3 separate regions of the Homo sapiens genome follow, and regions 1 and 2 are each linked to region 3. The links are contacts of gene promoters, found by promoter capture Hi-C in human tissues and cell types (Jung and others, 2019). All regions are on one chromosome and are shown on one strand. Each heading gives the region's core, a stretch centred on a gene start or on the middle of the fragment in contact. The rest is flanking DNA. Distances are from core to core; before and after follow the strand shown. Region 1 holds the start of ZNF528 (zinc finger protein 528). Region 2 holds the start of CNOT3 (CCR4-NOT transcription complex subunit 3). Region 3 overlaps ZNF525 (zinc finger protein 525).

Evidence for each region. The method cuts DNA at HindIII sites, captures the fragments that hold promoters and counts their contacts. A contact is called where the count stands out against the background at its distance.
Region 1: the fragment with the promoter of ZNF528 here is called in contact with a fragment that was not itself captured in region 3 in 3 of the 25 tissues and cell types used here (adrenal gland, dorsolateral prefrontal cortex and thymus).
Region 2: the fragment with the promoter of CNOT3 here is called in contact with a fragment that was not itself captured in region 3 in 4 of the 25 tissues and cell types used here (dorsolateral prefrontal cortex, lymphoblastoid cells, ovary and 1 more).

What each region holds. Positions count from the first base shown.
Region 1 is chr19:52,396,031-52,399,434 of GRCh38, reverse strand. It overlaps ZNF528 (zinc finger protein 528), which reads right to left and starts at 1,586. Exons shown (of 7, transcript NM_032423.3): 1 at 1,531-1,586; 2 at 816-1,068. ZNF528-AS1 (ZNF528 antisense RNA 1) reads left to right here and starts at 1,678. Exons shown (of 7, transcript NR_125345.1): 1 at 1,678-1,973; 2 at 2,168-2,240; 3 at 2,683-2,825; 4 at 2,936-3,070. It also overlaps a transcript of ZNF880 not described here. RefSeq lists an enhancer at 1,075-2,274. The HindIII fragment of the contact is 17,909 bases long and covers 1-3,404 here.
Region 2 is chr19:54,136,503-54,140,038 of GRCh38, reverse strand. It overlaps CNOT3 (CCR4-NOT transcription complex subunit 3), which reads right to left and starts at 2,277. Exons shown (of 18, transcript NM_014516.4): 1 at 2,046-2,277. The HindIII fragment of the contact is 23,783 bases long and covers 1-3,536 here.
Region 3 is chr19:53,379,301-53,382,901 of GRCh38, reverse strand. ZNF525 (zinc finger protein 525) reads right to left here. Exons shown (of 4, transcript NM_001348156.2): 4 at 1-2,180. The coding sequence ends at 883. Among named protein-coding and RNA genes, the nearest start is that of ZNF765, 14 kb to the left of the region's middle. The HindIII fragment of the contact is 5,110 bases long and covers 1-3,601 here.

The DNA of each region.
Region 1 (3,404 bases), core at 337-2,836, 980 kb after region 3:
TTTCACATGTTGGCCAGGCTGGTCTCAACTCCTGACCTCAAGTGATCCGCTCACCTCAGCTTCCCAAAGTACTGGGATTACACGTGTGAGCCACAGCTCCTAGCCTCATGTGTTCTAAACAAATTTTATATTATAGAAAAATTAATATGTCACAATTCAATCATAATTTCCAATCAACTCACCACTCATCTGTAACCAGGGTCCCCCTCTTTCCTCACTACTGTTTCCCTGCCTCATTCTGTACATATCTCTCATTCTCATCTTTTTTCCTAGCTCTTTTTTTCTCTATTTTCCCCTAGGATTCTGTTCATTTTGAGTCCCTCCTCTTCTCTTTGTCCCATTCTTCCCTCTATTCCTTCTCTCCCACCTGTTCTGATCCATTTTTACAACTTGTTTCACCTCTTATTCCTCTTTCTGCCCAATCTTTCATTGTCCCTAATCTCCATATATTTCTGCCTCTTTCCTCCCACATCTCAGCTCCCCTTGGGGTCTCCCTGTTAAATTCCATCTTCGATATTACACACCCCTGTCCCCACTCTCTGGCACCCTTAGATCCCAGGCCTCCCCCTGCTGTGGTTCTCCCTGTTCTCCTTGTGACCAGCTGCCCCCTCTGGCTGTCCCAGCACCACGCTGCTCTGTCTGACCTGGCTCCAAATCCCTCCTCCTCTCCCCCCTCTGTCTGAGAAGCCTTCCCTATCTTGTTGAATTTCGTCTTTCTACAGACCCAGGTTTGTCTATATTTTTACAGTTACTTTTCTCCCCTGCTATTTTCTCGGCACCTTCTTTCACTGTGCCTCTGCAAACCCCTCACTCACCTTCTACTTTGCCTTCTGTTAATGGGTCTCTCATTCTTCATTTCTCTTTCAAAATTTCTCTATTTCCTCTGCCTCGTTCCCATCTCTTTTTCTCCACACATTCACAGGGAGGGGATTGGAATAAGATGCCCACTTCCGGAAGAGCTCATTTTCTGTGGGCTGGAAACTGGCTCGAGAGAACACTGGATGTCAGGAGACTGAAGTCACCCCCCACACTCGGGGTCAGGAGAACCGGTGGCTGGAAAAGGGAGGCCTGGGGAACAGAGGGTCCAGATTAAGGAGCAAAAAGGCAGGAGTGGGTCAGGAGAGGGGTGGAGTCTGCAGAAACCAGGTCTGGGCAGAGGACGAGGCCTCTCGTGCCCTGTTGGGGCGCTGAGCTCTAGGGGCAAAGAAGGGCGAGGCTAGGGGAACGGAGAGTGAGGATTTTACGTGGTGCGGGGCGTGTGTAGGGGTTACTAAAGGATTTGAAGCAGGTAAACCCCACGATAGGAGGTGTCTACGTGGGTAAATGACAAAAAGACCGGGCACACGACCAGCCTCCAAGCGATTTTAACACGCAGAAAGCGACTCCCAGACTCTCAAAGGATGTCTGAATTTACTCGGGGTGGAGGGAGCGGTGCCGGGATTTCAAGGTCTGCATGCCCCTCAGCTCCCGGGTATAGAAGCAGAGAAGAACTGGCTAGCCTAGACTTAACATAGACAAAGGGAAACTCACGCACTGCTGCGAAAACAGTTTCTCCCTGCAATCGGCTTCCGGGTCTACCGGAAACTGCGCTCTAGGCGTTCGCCCCCCGCGGTCCGCTTCCGGGTTTGCACGAAATTGCGCGCGCATCCTAGAGGCCGGACTGGCTGGGACCAGGGCGGGCCGGGACAAAGCCTGGGCCGGGCCTGCGCTTCCGTTCGCTTGACTGGCTGCGCTTGTTTTCAGGGTTTTGGTCTGAAAACGGATCTTACCTGCGCAGAGCAAAATCGGTTGTAGATTATATCCACGAAAATTCCTTCTATTAAAATGAATTTCAAGTCCCACCTACCCTGGAAGCAGAAAGAGAGAGAAGAGAGAGAGTAAAGAGAAAGAGAAAAGAAAGAGAAGTTGAAAAAGAGAAAGAAAACCAAGAAAGAAAGAGAAAAAAACCGAAAATAAATGGACAAGAAAGAAAAGTAAGGAGGGAAGGGAAGGGAGGAAGGGAAGGGAAGCTTTAGGAATTGAATTAACACACTTTGGAATTGTCTGTGAAGGGGATGATGCAAGCTAAAATGTGAAATGCAAAACCCTGCCAGGGTAGAATGTTCTATTTCATGCCAGTGCCCATAGAAGATAAATACTTTTCATTTATCTTCCCCATTCACTCTAGACGGTGAAGGTCAACCCTGTGCTCAATTCCAGAGACTTTCCTAGGGACATCGTGTTGGGCATGGAGGACTAAGGCCAGTGTGAAGATAAGTCACCGATTCTTTAAAAAAAAAAAGCCAGTAACTTATAAAAATAGCCATAAACGACGTAGTTTTTTGTTGTTGTTGTTGTTTTGAGACAGCGTCTCCCTCTGTCCCCCAGGCGGGAGTACAGTGGCAGGCACTCAGCTCACTGTAACCTCCGCCTCCTGGGTTCAAGTGATTCTCTTGCCCCAGCCTCCAGAGTAGCCACCACGCCCGGTCCAACTTAGTTTTTTAATACTTTTTAAAATTTTAAGACAGGGTCTCTGCCACCGAGGCTGAAATGCAGTGGCGCAATCATAGCTCACTGCAACCTTGACTTCCTGGGGTCCTGGGCAGGTGACCCCCTGTCTCAGCCTGCCGAGTAGCTGTGAGTAAAGGCCTGTGCCTCTCCACTGTGCTAATTTTCTACTGTTTGTTGCTTTGTTTTTAATAGAGATGTAGTCTGGTTTTGTTGCCCAGGCTGGTCTCCAGCTTCTAGCCTCAAGCAGTCTTCCCATCTGCTCCTACCAAAGTGCTCGGATTATAGGCATGAATCACCTTGCATGGGAGATAAGGACCCCCACATCAAGCCCTCAGGTTATTTTTGAAACACAAATACATAAGGCCCACAAGCAGGCCCATTGGCTGCAGACAGTGGGGTCACCTGAAGAACTTTTCTTTGATCTGAGTACCAACTTCTCACCTAGGTCACTGGGATCCTGGACTACGGCACTGCTCCAGGCAGGCCTGGTTATCCTGCTTGAGGCAGCAATCCTCTTGAGCCTAGTGAAATGCAACTGGCTGTACCTCAATGATGTTGCCCTGAGATTCTGCCAGTCGAGGTATTACTTCAATCTCCTGAGACCAGCCTCTACCTCCAGATCCAGGGAGGTCAGTGCACATGTAAATGGACTAGCTTTATTAAAGGGGATATCTGGGCCAGGCGTGGTGGCTCACGCCTGTAATCCCAATACTTTGGGAGGCCGAGGAGGGCAGATCACCTGAGGTCGGGAATTAGAGACCAGCCTGGTTAACATGGTGAAACGAAGTCTCTACTAAAAATACAAAAAAAAAAAAAAAAAAAATTAGCCAGGCATGGTGGCACACGCCTGTAGTCCCAGCTACTCGAGAGGCTGAGACACAAGAATTGCTTGAATCTGGGAGGTGGAGGTGCAG
Region 2 (3,536 bases), core at 1,028-3,527, 760 kb before region 3:
TCATGAGGCACCTTTGATCTGGGAGAGCTTCCGCCTCTGCAGCAAGGAGCTCTGAGAAGTGATGTTGAAGGGTGATCCTTAACCCAGGTGGCTGCTGACGTGGCCACACAGAGGCTCTGAGACTCCAGAAGAAGGATGCGTTAGGGCCTGGGGTAGAGGTAGTCATCTCCACTGAGATGCCCCATGCCAAGGGTGGGGGGCTGGAATCTCCCACCTTGGAAAGTCTACACCAGAGAAGTCTCTGGTCCCAGGGACAGGGTCTACAGTGGAGTCTCCCGCTTGAGACTCAGGTATCTTACATCCACACAGCCAGGAAACTATGCCTTACCCCATACAGTGACAAATCAAGAGGGGGTTTTGGAAGCATTAGCCGGGGGCACCTGCATCCGAGAGGGGTCCTCAGCCTTACGGTGGGGACACATGCAGAGGCGTGGACACCTCAAATCCAGAAAAGCAGCCATACCAATACCAAGGATGGCAAGAACCTTATCCCTGGGGGAGGTGACACCAAGAAAGGGTCCTTACCCTGGAGAGAAGGCACAGCCCCAGAGGGAAGAGCCCCCACCTCGCAGTACAGGAACCCGGGTCTAGGAAGCTTCCTACTCTCATGGGGTACCAGCAGCGGGGCCAGAAGGCGAAACCCTTGTTCTCCAACTGCTGACACCCAGCGTAAGGGTAGATGGGAAGTCAACAAACCCACAGTGTGGGATCTGATGCAAATATCAAGGGCAGTGGGCTTCTTGGTCCTTGGAGAGCTGACACCCTAAAGGAGGAGACTGGTGTGAAGATGGAAGAAGCCTCATACTCAGGCAGGGGTGAAGGGAGGGAGGGGAGACATCAAAACCCCTCACCAAAAGGACAGGAGAGCTCACCCCGGGGTGGGTGGCCGCCCTGCACTGAGAGGCAGGGACTGCTCAGAAAGAGGGGCTGGTGCTGCCCGCAGTGGGAGCTCACTAACATGGACAGCGTGGCGGCTTAGTGTCTTTCACCAGGCACCTGAGCGCCAGGGGATCCCAGCAGCCCCCAGCAACAAGACCACAGTGGTCCTGATATCACTGGGAGACGCCCACACCCAGAAGGTCGGAGAGTCACGATGCAGGGGAGTTCAAGGCTGCAAAGCCAGGGGCAGACGCCAGGATCAAAGAAGTGTGAGAGCTGAGACCAGACGTGGGCCACACTGAGGACGGTCCTGTACCCCAGGTGGGGGAAAGCCAAACTCCCCCAAAAAGGCAGGCGCCCAGTGCAGCGGGATGGCGAGGCTGGAGCCACCCAGGGCGCTACTCGCTATGAGAGGGAAGAGCTGCAGACTACAGAGGTGGAAACTTCGGCAAAGGCTCCAACTAACGGGGAGTTTCTCCTCCACTCCTCTCCCAAGAGGCTCCCATCCGATACAGACGGGCAGCTGGAACCTGAGATCCAGGGGAGGCTGCGCTCCCGGGAGCAGTGAGGAGGGATGCGGAGGGCGGCCTCGGTCCTGGGAAGGGTGACTCCCCCACCCAGCTGGGGTCCTCGTCCCGACCACCACCCCCCCTCCCCGCCACCGTCGAGGGAGAAGCCCCGGCGCGGAGGCTGCCCCACAACGCGAAGGACCGAGGCCGAGGGGGGCAGGCACCTGAGCCCCGAGAGGGCGGGCACCTGGGACCAGGGGCGCCTCCATCCTTCCAGCCAGGAGCCAATACCGACGCGGAGAGGGGCGGGCACCTCGCGCCCGGGAGGCTTCGCACCCTCACACCCCTACCGGGGGGCCCGACGCGATGCCACGCGGGGAGGCGGCGGCGGGCGGGGCCCGGGGTCCGGGTCGCGGAAGGACCCCCGGGAGGCGCTGAGGAACGTGAAAGAGGCGCAGGAACGGGAGGGCGAGAGGGAGGGAGCCGCCCCCCGCCGGGAGCCCCGCGCTGCAGAGGCGGCGGCAGGGGGCAGGCGAGGGGAGGCCATGTCGCGACAGACGGCGGTGTCGCCAGGGCGGGAGGCGGCGGGGAGGGCGGCCGATGGCGCCGGGGGGAGGAAGGGAAGGGGTCCGGCCCAGTCGAGCCTGACGCTCTCACCACAGGAGCTGGCGCCGCCGCTGAGGAGCGTATCGCGACAGGCGGGGGAGGCGAGCGCCCGCCGCCTTTTTCTCGCGCCCCGGGCCCGGGCGCTATCGCGATAGCGGCGCGAAGCGGAAGTGGGGTTGGGGGAGTGGGCCCGGGGTTGTTCTGACGACGGGGGTCGGGGCTCAAGGGAGGCCGCGGCGTCTGCCGATGGCTCCGCGGAAGCTGACCGGGCCCGGTCCAAGATGGCGGCGGCGGAGGAGGCCTCCCCTCCTCTCTTCTCGTCTCTGGCGCCGACCCGCCCCCGAGTCCCGAATATAGGCCAGTCATTGCTCCCGCTGAACGTCGCTCCTGACCCTTGGAGGCTTTCTATTGGTTCCTGGCAGGGATGCGCCCTGCCCCCTTTCGCGGATTGGGTGATCGCTCCAAGGCGCGGCGTTCGATTGGCCTCCCGCGCAGGCTGCTAGGATTGGCTCAGGTTTTCCTCCCCGCTCCTCCTCCTCCTCCCGCCTCAGGGCACAACACGCCAGCGCGAGGACCCGAACGTCAATCAAGAGACCTGTGTCGTGCTGATTGGATGTATCCGCCCCCCTCTCTTAAAACAATTGGTCTGGGGGAGGAGCTACGACAGTCCAGGGGCGGGAAGTCGTCCGTCAAGTTTAGAGCTCTTTTTAATTGGTTGCGGGGGCATATTCTGCCTTGAAGTCATTGGTTGGTCCTGGAAGTGGGTGGGGAAAGCGGAGGAAGGCATGGAGTGTGGGCGTTAGGGGCCGCGTACCTAATGGGAGACAGACAGGTGCCTTTAAAGCGGGGGCCGAGCCGAAGTCATCTGCCAATCAAAACAGCCACAGGGCCAAGTGGGAGGAGCTGGGCAAGAAAGTCCACCCCTTTTTCTTCGTTGGCCCTAAAAGTTATCATTCATGCTAGTTGGACCAATAGCGTGGCGAGTGGGCGGTAGCTGCTCGTAGAGCGTGTGAAAGAGGGTGTATGTAGCTGGCAGAAGTGGGACTTGGTCGCAACCGTTGCGTCCCGGCCAGGTAAGCAGCTTCCCTCTCAGCTGCCTCGTCTTTCTCCAAGTGCCTCTATGTTGGCACATCTCTGAAATTCATTATTTGCTGAGTGAAAGAAGAAAGGGACCAGAGACACTGCTTTAAGTCTCTGGCACCGTGCATAGCAGAATTGGTTGGGAAGCGTGAGGCATGGAGTTTTTGTCCTGCCCCTGCCTGGTTAGGCGACCAGATGGTGGGACAGTCATTCTCCTCTGCGTCTCCGCTTCCTTAGTGTGTTGAGGACGCTGCAGAAGGTACAGAGGAGACGGGTGGCTCCCTAATGCCTGCTCGTTTCAGGTCTCAGCTCTGTTGTCTTCTTGGAGAGAAAACTTCCCTGACCTCCCTCCCGGGCGGAGCGCTCCTGCGCGCCTTGTTCGTTAGGATTTATTTTTGTACGTCTACCGTCATTTTCGTAATTATTCGGTTTCCCTGTCTGGATTTTGCATCTCCAGCACTT
Region 3 (3,601 bases), core at 769-3,268:
TGTAAGGTTTCTCTCTAGTATGAATTCTCCTATGACTTTCAAGGTTTGATTTGAATCTGAAAGCTTTATCACATTCTTCACATTTGTAAGGTTTCTCTCCAGCATGAGTTCGCCCGTGAACTGCAAGGTATGAACGATGTCTGAAAAATTTGTCACATTTATCACACTTGTAAGGTCTCTCTTTATTATGGATTCTCCAATGATTTGCAATAGTTGTAGCATTACTGAAGACGTGGTGACAATCATTACATTTGTAAAGTTTCCCTCTGCCATGGATTGCTTGATGGTAAATAAGCGCTGACTGCCTATGAAAGGTTTTGCCACACTCATTGCACTTCTAAGGTTTCTCTCCAGTATGACGTCTATGATGGCATGTGTTAACTCCTTACTGAAGGTCTTGCCACACTCATTACACTTATAAGATTTATTTCCAGTATGAAGTCTATGATGGCGTGTAAGGCATGACTTCTGACTGAAGGTCTTGCCACACTCATTACACTTGTACGGTTTCTCTCCATTATGAATTCTCCTATGTCTTTCAAGATTTGATTTGTATCTGAAAGTTTCATCACATTCTTCACATTTGTAAGGTTTCTCTCCAGTATGAAGTCTATGATGGCATGTAAGGGATGATGTATGACTGAAGGTCTTGCCACACCTATTACACCTGTAAGGTTTCTCACCAGTGTGAATTCTCCTATGTCTTTCAAGGTTTGATTTGAAACTGAAAGCTTCATCACATTCTTCACATTTGTAAGGTTTCTCTCCACTATGAAATTTATGATGGTATACAATGGATGACGTATGACTGAAGATCTTGCCACAATCATTACACTTATAACATTTCTCTCCAGTATGAATTTTCTGACGTATTTCAAGATTTTATTTGAAACTGTAAGCCTTGTCACATTCTCCACACTTGCAAGGTTTCTCTCCACTATGAAGTCTACAATGGCAGGTAAGGGATAACTCCTGACTGAAGGTCTTGCCACACTCATTACATTTGTACAGTTTCTCTCCATTATGAATTCTCCTATGTCTTTCAAGACTTGATTTGAAACGGAAAGCTTCATCACATTCTTCACACTTGTAAGGTTTCTCTCCAGTATGAAGTCTACGATGGCATGTAAGGGTTGACATATGACTGAAGGTCTTGCCACAATCATTACACTTGTATGGTTTCTCTCCAGTATGAGTTATCCTATGACTTTCAAGGTTTGATTTGAAACTGAAAGCTTTGTCACATTCTTCACATTCGTAAGGTTTCTTTCCAGTATGAATGCTACGATGGCATGCAAGGTATGACTTCTGACTAAAGGTCTTGCCACACTCATTACACTTATGTGGTTTCTCTCCAGTATGAATTCTCCTATGTCTTTGAAGGGCTGAATTGTGTCTGAAAGCTTTGTCACATTCTTCACATTTGTAAGGTTTCTCTCCAGTATGAAGTCGATGATGATATGTAAGGGATGACATCTGACTGAAGGACTTGCCACACTCATTACACTTGTAAGGTTTCTCACCAGTGTGACATCTACGATGGCGTGCAAGGTATCGCTTCCGAATAAAGACCTTGTCACATACATCACATTTATATTGTTTCTCTCCTAGATGAATAATCTGATGTTTCCTTAAGAGTGAGCTATAATTAAAGGCTTTGCCACTCTCAATACATTGGAAAGATTTTTCTCTCATGCGTACTTCCTGTCTTTGTGTGAGTAATGAATAATTCAGAAAATTATCCCCATAGTTATTAGATATATGGGTTTTGGGCCTACAAGAAATTCTTTGGGCTGTTGAAACCGAGGAAGCATCGTTGATAGACTTCTCCACTTGATTATTAATTTTCCCTTTGGGCTGAAATATGTGGAGTTCAGACAGATGTGAATGAAAGCTTGATCCAAGCTGATATTTAATAGGCTTGTTTCCAGCATGCCTGTGATCATATTGCTCTGTACTACCCATCAATTTTTTGATTTTTGTCATGGGTGCTTCATGGCCATTTCTTTCATCTTCTTGCCACTGAAACTCAAAGTTATGAATATCTTTCTCAATTTCCTGGAAGGAAAAATCTCCAATGTGATGACGTTCATGTCTTTGCAATGTCCCTGTGTGGATCACTTCTGTATTGCCTTGTGCTGTTGATGAGAACTCCTTCATTGTGCATTTGGAAGAGATACCTACAAAATATAAACACTAATAGGTACACAAAAGACAATACTGATTTTAAACTTCCCAAACATGATCTTCAAAGTTTAGGAACACAAAATCGTAAGATTCTTTAATAAATAAAGGGCGATTACATGTGCTTCAAATTATTATTATGAAAGCTTATTTCCAATATCATGACAAAACACTGAAGGGCACAAACATGTGTAAGCCTAAAATAAGGAGTATTTTTCCACTGTGACCCTAAAGTGTCTAACAGTTTGCAAAAGACATATCACTGTCACATCAATGAAAAGTATATATTCTTCATATTTACAGCATACTTACTGTATACAAATAAATACTAAAGGACCACACAATATAATATACTGGTAAATAATCCACAGCAAGCTCATGTAAGGATAACCAAAATCAATGGAAATTCTGTATTGTTAAATAATCATAGCACTGAGAAGATAAGAAAAGTTTACAAAATTTAGCAAGGCATGGTGGTGCACGTCTGTACTCCCAGCTACTCGCAAGGGTGAGGTACAAGAATTGCTTGAACCCAAGAGGCAGAGGTTGCAGTGAGCCGAGATCGCACCACTGTACTTCAGCCTGGATGACAAAGTGAGACTCCATCTCAAAAAAAAAAAAATATTTTTCTGAATAACTGTCATAAAATTACCTATATCCATGCAGAAAAGGCATATTGTAACATTTAAAATTTTTTTTTTATTTTTGTATTTTTGAGACAATGTTTCACTGTGTCACAACAGGCTGGAGGGCAATGGCCTGATCTCAGCTCACTGCAACCTCCACCTTTTGGGTTCAAGCCATTCTCCTGCCTCAGCCTCCTGAGTACATGGGATTACAGGCACATGCCAGCATGCTTGGCTAATTTTTGTATTTTTAGTAGAGATAGGGTTACATCATATTGGCCAGGCTGGCCTTGAACTTTTGACCTCAAGTGATCCACCCGCCTCAGCCTCCCAAAGTCCTGGGATTGCAGGCGTGAGCCACAGCACCCGCTGGCACTTTGTGACATTAACTAGTAAACTGTGTCAGTTATATTGCATACCACATACCGAAAAGCTTTATGTAAAATCATAAAAATGAATTGGTAAAATAACTGTAACGCATAAAACCAGCAAGCAAATCATAAGTACATTTATACAAACTGCAGAATTCTAAACAATTCCCTGTTAAGAAAAAAGCACAACTTCTACTTACCACCAGCACACAATATAAGAACTGAAATACATGTTAAGATCACTACCTTCTGATGTATGAGGTCAAAAAAATATGCAGCATTATAATGAATAAGAATTCACTAACAGCCGGGTGCAGTGGCTCATGCCTGTAATTCCAGCACTTTGGGAGGCCGAGGTGGGAAGACCATGAGGTCAGGAGTTCAAGAATAGCCTGGCCAACGTGGTGAAACCATAACTCT